Regions from separate parts of the Homo sapiens genome. Here region 1 is linked to region 2. Evidence: promoter capture Hi-C in 16 types of primary human blood cells and fetal thymus (Javierre and others, 2016). All regions are on one chromosome and are shown on one strand. Each heading gives the region's core, a stretch centred on a gene start or on the middle of the fragment in contact. The rest is flanking DNA. Distances are from core to core; before and after follow the strand shown.

What was found. Contacts are between HindIII fragments. The CHiCAGO score rates a contact against its expected background, and 5 or more counts as called.
Region 1: a contact is called between a fragment that was not itself captured here and the fragment with the promoter of BCAP29 in region 2, in 1 of 17 cell types (naive B cells). The highest score is 5.6, in naive B cells.

Annotation. Positions count from the first base shown.
Region 1 is chr7:107,700,875-107,704,124 of GRCh38, forward strand. SLC26A4 (solute carrier family 26 member 4) reads left to right here. Exons shown (of 21, transcript NM_000441.2): 16 at 227-322; 17 at 953-1,183. Among named protein-coding and RNA genes, the nearest start is that of SLC26A4-AS1, 41 kb to the left of the region's middle. The HindIII fragment of the contact is 2,184 bases long and covers 179-2,362 here.
Region 2 is chr7:107,577,641-107,584,566 of GRCh38, forward strand. It overlaps BCAP29 (B cell receptor associated protein 29), which reads left to right and starts at 2,606. Exons shown (of 8, transcript NM_018844.4): 1 at 2,606-2,661; 2 at 3,119-3,224; 3 at 6,242-6,342. The coding sequence starts at 3,133. DUS4L-BCAP29 (DUS4L-BCAP29 readthrough) reads left to right here. Exons shown (of 13, transcript NR_163941.2): 7 at 3,119-3,224; 8 at 6,242-6,342. DUS4L (dihydrouridine synthase 4 like) reads left to right here. Exons shown (of 8, transcript NM_181581.3): 8 at 1-883. RefSeq lists a silencer at 2,464-2,953 and an enhancer at 3,044-3,113. The HindIII fragment of the contact is 6,036 bases long and covers 487-6,522 here.

The DNA of each region.
Region 1 (3,250 bases), core at 21-2,520, 120 kb after region 2:
CTGTCTTGGAGCCTTTGATATGCTACTGTCTTCTCAGAGCTTCTGGGTAGGAGTAGGGTAGCCTGGGAGTAGACAGAGATCTACTCCATCAGACCTTACAATTTCTTTTTTGGCAGGATAGCTCAAGGAATTATACCCTTTGAGAAATAGCCTTTCCAGATAACAGTTGCCATTAATAAGCTTTAGGTGCCAGGCATTTTAAGTAACTTGACATTTATTTCCAAAGGTTGGATTTGATGCCATTAGAGTATATAATAAGAGGCTGAAAGCGCTGAGGAAAATACAGAAACTAATAAAAAGTGGACAATTAAGAGCAACAAAGGTGAGATGACATCTTTCTTTTCCCCCTTAAATTATTTCCTTTCCCTGATGAGAGCAGTTAGAGGGTCTAAAATTAAATCTATCCTCTTTAGTATCCAGATGTGAATGAACAAATGACATGTACGTATCAAAGAACAACTGAGCTATTCTTATAGGCAAGCGGGAGTGGAAGGGAATGAAATAAAATCAGCAGCGCTGCCTGGAAACACAGGATGTGATTTTTTTCCCCACCATGAACAGTGTCTGCATTATTTTCTATACTTTATTTTTACTGAAAGGAACAAAATAAGTGCAAATTCAATGCCAGAAAACTACCCACCATAGAAGGCAGTCTAAGTCCATAAACTTTTGGAGCTGTTAACTTTTACTCAGATTCTTCTGGCCAGTGTATTTCTTGGCAAAGTTCCACAATCATCCAGAAAACAAAAGTTTCCTGGCTCCTCTGTTCTCCCAGTTTTCTTCCTAGACAACATCAAAGTTTGGGCTGAGGTGAAACCCATCCTTAAAAATTCATCTCCTTGATGTCTTGCTTACCAAGGAACAGTGTGTAGGTCTTTTGGATAATTTGATATGAATGGTTGAAAGATTTCAAATCTTTGACAATTAAGTTGACAGTGTTTTCTTCGTTTAGAATGGCATCATAAGTGATGCTGTTTCAACAAATAATGCTTTTGAGCCTGATGAGGATATTGAAGATCTGGAGGAACTTGATATCCCAACCAAGGAAATAGAGATTCAAGTGGATTGGAACTCTGAGCTTCCAGTCAAAGTGAACGTTCCCAAAGTGCCAATCCATAGCCTTGTGCTTGACTGTGGAGCTATATCTTTCCTGGACGTTGTTGGAGTGAGATCACTGCGGGTGGTAAGGTTCTGGTTTTCTGAATTATACATTTGGAGCTTTGGCAATAGTAAAATGATGTGGGTTGTCCAGTATTGCAACAGGGCAAATACATGGGCTTTGTAATTTTTCTAGGTGAATGCTTTTGTAAAAAAGTGTAATATTTTAAAGCATAGGCTCTGGAGCCAGACTACCTGGGGGAGATACTGGCTTCACCACTTACTAGCAGTACGACCCTGGGCAAGTTGCTTAATCTGTCTATATCTCAGTTTCTTCATCTGTAATATGGAGGTAATGATGGTATCTACCTTCACAGGTTGTTACAAGGATTAAATAAGCTAATAGATATAAGGTGTTTAGAAGAGTGTCTGGTTCAGGCTGGGCATGGTGGCTCACGCCTGTAATCCCAGCACTTCGGGAGGCTGAGGCAGGTGGATCATGAGGTCAGGAGTTCAAGACCAGCCTGGCCAATATGGTGAAACCCCGTCTCTACCAAAAATACAAAAATTAGCTGGGCATGGTGGCGCACACCTGTAGTCCCAGCTCCTAGGAGGCTGTGGCAGGAGAATCGCTTGAACCCGGGAGGTGGAGGTTGCAGCTGAGATTGTGCCACTGTACTCCAGCCTGGGTGACAGAGTGAGACTTCATCTCAAAAAAAAAAAAAAAAAAGAATATCTGGTTCAAAGATACTCCCCAGCAAATTAATTCACATTTATTATGTTTTATCTTTCTGAGAATGTATAACAAGTGGTATATGAAAAGAAAAAAATGGGCAAAAGTTTATTAAGTATTACATTTCTATTTGTTATGTTAACAGCAACAGGATAAGGAATACCAGGTGTATGTTAGGACTGGAAAAGCCAGGCATTATTAAGAGGTTAGAGTAGGAAGCAGGTCAGACATCTGGAAGGTCAAAGCAAGAGTTGAGGAGTATGCAGGATAGAAACATTAATGATATCAGAAACCAGTTATGCAAGCTGAAGTTCATTAATTCTGTCAACAAATAGATGTGAAATGCCTAATGTGTACTGAGCACTCTGCCAGGCACAAGAGACTAGTGATGAAGTAGACACAGTTTCTACCTACGTGGGACTTAGCAGTCTGGAGGAGAAGGCAAACATTAAGTCATCTTATAAATAACAATTGTAGTAAGTGCTCCAAAGAAGATGAATAGGACATCACCTGAAGCATCAAGTTCAGTGAAGCTTCAGGTAGGTATCAAAAGGGTCAGGCAGAAAAGTAAGCAGGTCAAGACACCAACAATCAGATGTAATAATATAAAGCTGACTCCTAACTGAGGTTCCACTTAGCTAAGGCTTCTTTGCTACCTCTATAAGGGGAGGAAATGATTCCAGGATGTGGGTACTAGGTAGGTAGGGTAGAGAAGTGATTGTGCTTGGCAAAAGAGTATGAGAATATGCTGACAGGTTCTGTTCTAGTTCTCTTAGCAGATTTTGTTATTAGCTCATTTGAAATCACTCTTGTTCTTTGTTGTACATTTCACTCTAAGCATTGGCTGAGATCCATTGTAGACTATATTGGCCAGAGAGTTCAATGAATTACTTTTGGGGACAGTCTTAACATATTTAATGCCAGAATATTTCCCACACAACGAATATTTACTTTCAAATATTATAATGACAGTTATGATAGCTAAAGAAGACTCCAAACTTTATACTTGAACAGAGGTCTTGATTTGTTTTCCTCCATAATTCTCAAATTCTCTTTTATTATTGACTATGGGTCTTGTGTCTTGACTTTTTAAAATTAAATGTTTATTTTGACATAATTGTAAATTCACATGTAGTTGTAAGGAATAATATTTAGATCCTATATACCCCTTACCCAGTTTCTCCCAATGAGTAACATCTTGTAAAACTGTAGCATAAAATCACAGTAGGACACTGACATTCAAAATAGAGGCCTTGACTTTTAGGTCAATAGTAACATTTTGAACCCGATAAGCATAGCCACACCCATATCTCTTCTCCAATCAGCAGGGCCTATATTAAGAAGCCTCCTGTACTCTCTTCTTTCCACAAATGCTTATTTAGCACCTCCACGCTATCAAGTGCTGTGCTATTGAGCGCT
Region 2 (6,926 bases), core at 1,356-3,855:
AGTAGCTCTCAAATTTTAGTATAAAAACAATTCCTGGGAGCGTTTTTTAAAAATCAGTTGTAGACACCACCCTCAGAGATTCTGATTAGGTAGATCTGGAGTAGACCCAGAAATACACAGTTTAAAGAAAACTCCCAGTGGTTCAAACATCCTGATCATCCTAGGCAAACATTGACAAATACTGCTCTGAATCCTGTTCTATAGATATTGGGGGGATGGGTAGAGTGGGAATTTTTTCCTAATCATGTTTTTAACATTTTAAAATAAAATTTAATACTAAGAAATTATGGCTTATAGTATCTATAAATTAACAAGAAGTATGCAGGTGCAAAAAAGTGGTGGAACAAATACCAACATCCATCCAAAATGAAAAAGAACAGGAAATTCTGAATAGAATTGCACTCAGAACTTATATTAAAAATTCCATTTGGTTAATGACATTAAATTTGGTACATTTCAAAACTTCTAGGTCCTCCAAAGATTGAAAGCTTAATAATCTCCTACCTAAAAAGATAAAATTAATTGCAATCTACCATATCTTAAGTATAGGAAATTTGGTGTCCAACCTGGAGATGATTATATATTTGAAATATTTCCTAGAGAATAGTAACCAGGTTTTGTTTTTAACTTTAAAACCTAATTACTTTTGTGCCTCTCAGCCGTTGATTGTAACTTTAAAGTCCCATGGTTTTGGAGTGTTATTAATAGATTTTGTTATCGGTGGGCATGCACTGCAAGAATTAAGTATCTCAGACTGAAATAAAACCGTTCATAATTAAAGTATTATTTTGTTTTGCCAACATGAAAACTGTTATAAGGAAACAATTATGTAAAACTGTTTAATTCACGTTTGGGAATATTGAATGAATCCATTTTAACATAAGCACTGTGGTGCCATCTTTTTTCTCAGTACATTCTGTTTTCACTTTTCAGTTAATGCATTTTTTTTTTTAAAGATAACTCGCTGTTTCATTTTCTATGAATACTGTACAAAATAGGGAGGTATGGTCAGAACTCTGAATTGAATTACCCTAGTGTTGTGAGCACAGCATCATCACTAGAGTAATGTGCTCGGTGTTTGGAAGGAACCAGCGTGGATGGGCAAGAAGTTCTAACACTTTTGATTAAAAGTAACTTCCTGGCCGGGCGCGGTGGCTCACGCCTGTGATCCCAGCACTTTGGGAGGCCAAGACGGGCAGATCACGAGGTCAGGAGATCAAGACCATCCTGGATAACACGGTGAAACCCCGTCTCTACTAAAAATACAAAAATTAGCTGGGCGTGGTGGCGGGCGCCTATAGTCCCAGCTACTCAGGAGGCTGAGGCAGGAGAATGGTGTGAACCTGGGAGGTGGAGCTTGCAGTGAGCTGAGATTGCGCCACTGCACTCCTGCCTGGGCAACAGAGCAAGACTCTGTCTCAAAAAAAAAAAAAAAAAAGTAACTTCCTGGCTAGGCGCGGTGGCTCACACCTGTAATCCCAACAGTTTGGGAGGCCAAGGCAGGCAGATCACTTGAGTCCAGGAGTTCGAGACCAGCCTGGCCAACATGGTGAAACCCTGTCTCTGCTAAAAATACAACAATTAGCTAGGCATGGTGGCAGGCGCCTGTAATCCCAGCCACTCTGGAGACTGGGGCCAGAGAATCACTTGAACCTGGGAGGCAGAGGCTACAGTGAGCCGAGATCGCACCACCACAATCCAGCCTGGGCGACATTGGGAGACTCCATCTCAAAAAAAAAAAAAAAATCTTCCTTATGGTTAATTTATGTTCAAAGTCTATTTTTCTATTTTTTCTGTTACATGTGATCCAGAATATTAGTGATAAATTAAGAAAAAGCACCAACTTAAATGTGTTTTTGAATGTTTTATATTCTATAATTATCAATTTTCAACATTTATTTACTATTCCCCAAATAATTGTTACCAGGATAGTACTTTTATTAAATTCCTGATACGTTGTCAATATTGAAAAAACTCAACAACTTAAATGTACACGCACAGTTTGAAAAGCTGGAAAATAGTGAAAGAATATCCCCATACCCACCTTTCGTACCAGTCCCCAAACATCACGGTAAAGTTTACTGTCTCTTCCCAGCCCATGGACGGGAACGGGAACGCCTACGGAATATGTTGTGACATACAGTTGATCCTAGGTTCTCCAGAACAAAATGCTGCACGACCACCTCATCCTGGCCCTTTATTAAATATAGCTTAATTCTGGACACAAACAGTTCCCACCATGAAGAGAGAGTAGGTGACCGGAAAGGAGTGCGTCTTAAGCGCGTTCGCTGAATTTGCACCACCCAATCCAGCCCCGCCGCCCGGCGCCGCTCCTTAGACCTGGACCCCGGCACCCTCCCGCCGGGGCCGCACTTAGCAGTGGAAAGTCTGTCCTCCTGAAGAAGTTGCGCTCCGACCTCCAAGCATCAGGTCAAAAGTCTAACTCATTCTCTGACCTGCCGCCAATTAGAAAACAACTGTTGCCAATAAACGTGGTCGCGCCGCCTGTGACCTCAGCCGGGACGGACCCGCGGGCGGGAGCCTGCGGGGCGTGAGGCGGGGTGGGGCCCTGGCTCCCCTCCCCCGCCCAGCCGCGGCGTCTGACGTCCCGCGCGTCGGCGGCCGCGGAGCAGCGCAGGGAGCCAGGCGGGCTGCCGGCGGGTAAGGGCTTCTGCGACCCGGGGACCCGTGGGGCGTAGGCCGCGGAGGGAGAGCGCCGCTGCCTGGTCTGGAGAACCCCGCGGAGCTGGCCTGGCCCGACCCGGCCCGGCCCGGTCCGCGGCGCGGTGGTCGAGGGCCCGCGGCGCCTTCTGGGAGCGGGAGGGCCGGGAAGCCGGGCGTTGGTGGAGGGAGGCGTTGGGCTTCTGTCGCCGCGAAGCTGGCGGAAAAGGCAGTGGCCAGCGAGCCGCCTCGCCAGTTCCCACGACTCCCAGGGAGGTGGCGACACCCGCTTCCCGGGCCACCCTTTTCCCCTTCCTGACCGGGGTCCGTGCTTGCCTTCCCAGGTGGGGGAAGGTGGAACACTGTCCATCCCCTGGACAAAAACGCTGCGCCTCGGGGCCTTGAACCCGGTTTTGTTTGAAAGGAAGCAAGAGAAAATAAGTGTTTTTCCATTTAGGTGTGAAGAAAAAAATGACACTCCAATGGGCTGCAGTGGCAACCTTTCTTTATGCCGAAATAGGACTCATTTTAATCTTCTGCCTACCTTTTATTCCTCCTCAGAGGTAGGAAACCTTCAAATCGTTAACTAATAAATATTGGATCGCTCTTAATGTAAAATGGAAAAAGTTTTCTGAACATTAAAAAGTTTCGAAAGTCTTTGAAAATAAACTCACCTAACGAATTAGGTAGTATATAATGACAATATTAAAATAACATTTTATATAAAACTCTGTTACGTGTACAAGTGAAATAACTTTTTCTTCCCTTCTAAAAGAAAAGGCGCCTATACTTTTGATTCTGTTGATTACAGATATAATAAAGCAACGATTATACTTTTAACACCTGCCCTGCCTTGTCTCAGGTTTTACCTTTGTTTTATTGCCCTGAATTGGAGCCATGAACTAAATAAATATAAGTGGATAAATCATGTTTACAGTACAGCATGGGTGTAAAAGTGTTTCACTGAGGCACTGGAACAGCAATTTAGAAACCAAAGCCAATAAATTATTCTTAGTTTTCGCCTTTGTAACCGTTAGTTTCATTAATGACAATTTTACTACTTTTGATTTCACATAAAATTAATGAATGTATATTAAAAGTGCTGAATGTGAAAAGTATCACAACCATGTATTAGCATTAGTTCGTTAGTGACGGAACTTCTAAGGTCTTGAAGAACCAAGTACAGTGTTTCAAGCCAAGCAGTGGTTCATTTTACCCTTGCAGTAATCTACTTTTTAGTCGTTTAATTTTAGATCCAGAAATTTGATAGTATGAATGGGGAAATACACATGTAATAAAAATATTGCAAGATATTTGTTCATACTCCTGGCATAAAAGAAAGTATTTCATAAGTGAGATCCTAGAGATAACCCACTAAAGTGTATTAAAATCCCAGGACTGGGAGAAACTTCTTAAAGTTTCACCTTAGCTCAGGGTCCAGATAGTCTTTCACAACTCCTAACTTGCTCCTTACCTGCCTGGATTTCTGCTCTCTTCTGTCCTTCTCTATCAGCTAAGCTAAGCTCAGTAAGTTGTTTCTTACTAAAGAAAAAAAATTGAATCATACTGTAGGGTCTTTGATCTTATTTGATCCATTCCACCCATGTTCTATATATCACGTACTGAGACCCAGGAGGGCAAGTAGCCTACGGTTACCTAGCTGGTAAGTGACAGATTCTAGAAAAAAATCTGGCTCTTAGTCCAGTGTTCTTTCTACTCCATCATGCTGCCTCTCATCCTGTAGGTTTTGTTTCAAACTCAGTAACACCCTGTTTTGCTTTTTGGTAATATTTGCAATGATAGAATCCTATATACTCAAGAGAAAGAAAGATTTTGTATATAAACATCTAATTTATAGATAAGGCTTAAGGGTTTGCAAAGAAGGAAAAATTGTCAGTTGATCTTTACTCCATCAGAGTGATCTGTAACTTATGGATCAATATTTTTCTTCCTGCCAAATAAAAATTTTACCCATCCTGATCAAGTAGCTATTAGATAGATGTGTGTATATTTGCATATGATATATAAATGTGTTCTCATGTACAGATATAAAGAAAATACGGTATGTATGCACGCAGATCATTTACAATATGTCCTATGTGTGTATCCACATCTTTTTATCTTTTATATTTGTATCACCATAATCTTTAAAGAAAATATTTCATCATTTAGTCTCTATTATTTTCTTACATAACCCAGTGGTTAAAGGCACATGCTCAGAAATCAGGTCACCTATAACTGCATGTTACTAACCTTGGGCATGCTCTTGATCCTCTCTGATCTGTTTCCCCATCTGTAAAATGGAGGTAGTACTAGTGTCTACCCCTTACGGTAGTTGTTGTAATTAAATGAGATAAAACATGTAAAAGTACTTAGAACCATAATATAGTGAGAACACAATAGGTATTAGCTATGATAAGGTGCTCAACTGCTAGTTGTTCCCTATGAGAGATCTCTTACATTCCCTTTTACACCACACCAAACCTTGAAGAAATAAGTAAATTTACATTTGGACCTAGATCAAGGTATTACCACTTATGTTCTCTTAAAAATATAAAATTTTATATTGCATAATTTAAATATTGGCTGTATAAAATGCTTGGACTTGGAAGCAGAGACAAAATGAACCGATTCATCTGTATGAATCTCCCTCAACCCACCAATTTCAAGTAGTTACTTGAAGTTGTCCTAATCTTAAATCTTAAATGTGTCCTAATCTTAAAGTGAAACTGTTTTTTTCAAGTTGTAAGTGCTTGAAGCTATTTAAGTGCTTACTACATTTTTCTGCCTCCTTTCAACTAAAGTGTTACTCATTTAAATTGCCCTTGTACAAAGTTTGTTACCTTTCCTATTGCGTGATGGATTATTTTGCCACTTTGCCATTTATAACCCATGCTTTCTTACCACTGTCTTTGTTTATACTGTTCAATCCACCTAGACTATTTCCCCATCTCATTTCCTCTATGTTCACATCTTTATCTGTAGTAATTACATGGTTTTATATATATATATATAGTGTGTGTGTGAAAATTATCAAGCTACATATTTAAGATTTTTTCAATTTATGTGTATAATACCTGGGTAGTTTTTATAATTCCCTCATGGTTAAAGTAGAGAAACTTTTAGTTGGAGTATACGTTAAAATTGTACTATATAAAAATCAGTATGCAGAGTTAGACCCCACTCCTGAAATGTTGCCAATTGTTAGAACAATATATCTTTATTTCTAAGTCATTTCTCTGACCATGAAAAAGATACAGAGTAGTAGCTTCTATCAACAATATAATATTTTACTACTGCAAGAATTCCTTTTTAAGGTTTTGCTCATGTATGGTTTACTTTTAGAATATTTAAGCCACCAGACAGAGGATAATCAAATATCAGGTTATTATTAAATTTGAAAGAGTTGTTTTTTAATTCATGAGATATTCTGTCATGTCAGAATTAATAAATTTTAAAATTAAATTTCTGTAATTTTCACTTGCTACACAATTACTAAAATGTTACTTCAGTATTTAAAAAGTATTTCAAAACTTTATTTTAGTTTTTTTATACCTAATATAATTGTATTGCTTTACAGATGGCAGAAGATTTTTTCATTTAATGTCTGGGGTAAAATTGCAACTTTTTGGAACAAGGCTTTCCTTACCATTATCATCCTATTGATTGTTCTATTTCTAGGTAAGTACTAGATCCCTTCTTTGAATAAATATAACTTTTTTTAAATGAATTTCTTTTTAATTAATAGAGTTGATGTTACAATTGGTGTACAGTTGACTTTATATAGTATATTGATAGTACATAGAGTGGATACTGATCTATTGATACACAGTTGATAGATACTACCATTCTGTATGTTCAAGCTTAAGTTTCAACAGGGCACAATGATTCTTAACCCCTTCTAGGTTATTTTAAGATTTAAATGCTGTATATTAATGCATACCTTGCTGTTCAGAGTTACCAGACTTTATTTTTCATGGTGTTGTCTCTCCTTTGTTACTGTGATGTCCTAGGCACCCAGGAGCTTAGCTGTTAGAAAGGCAAATAAAAGAATAGAATCATTAGGCTCTCCAAAGGAGTCTTAGATGCAGGGTGTGCATTTGGACTGGATTAAAAAATAAACATGGCCGGGCGAGGTGGCTCAGGCCTGTAATCCTAGCACTTTGGGAGGCCAAGGCGGGAGGATTGCCTGAGTCCAGGAGTTTGAGACTAGCCTGGGCAACATAGCAAAACCTTATCTTTACAAAAATGTAAAAATTAGCCAG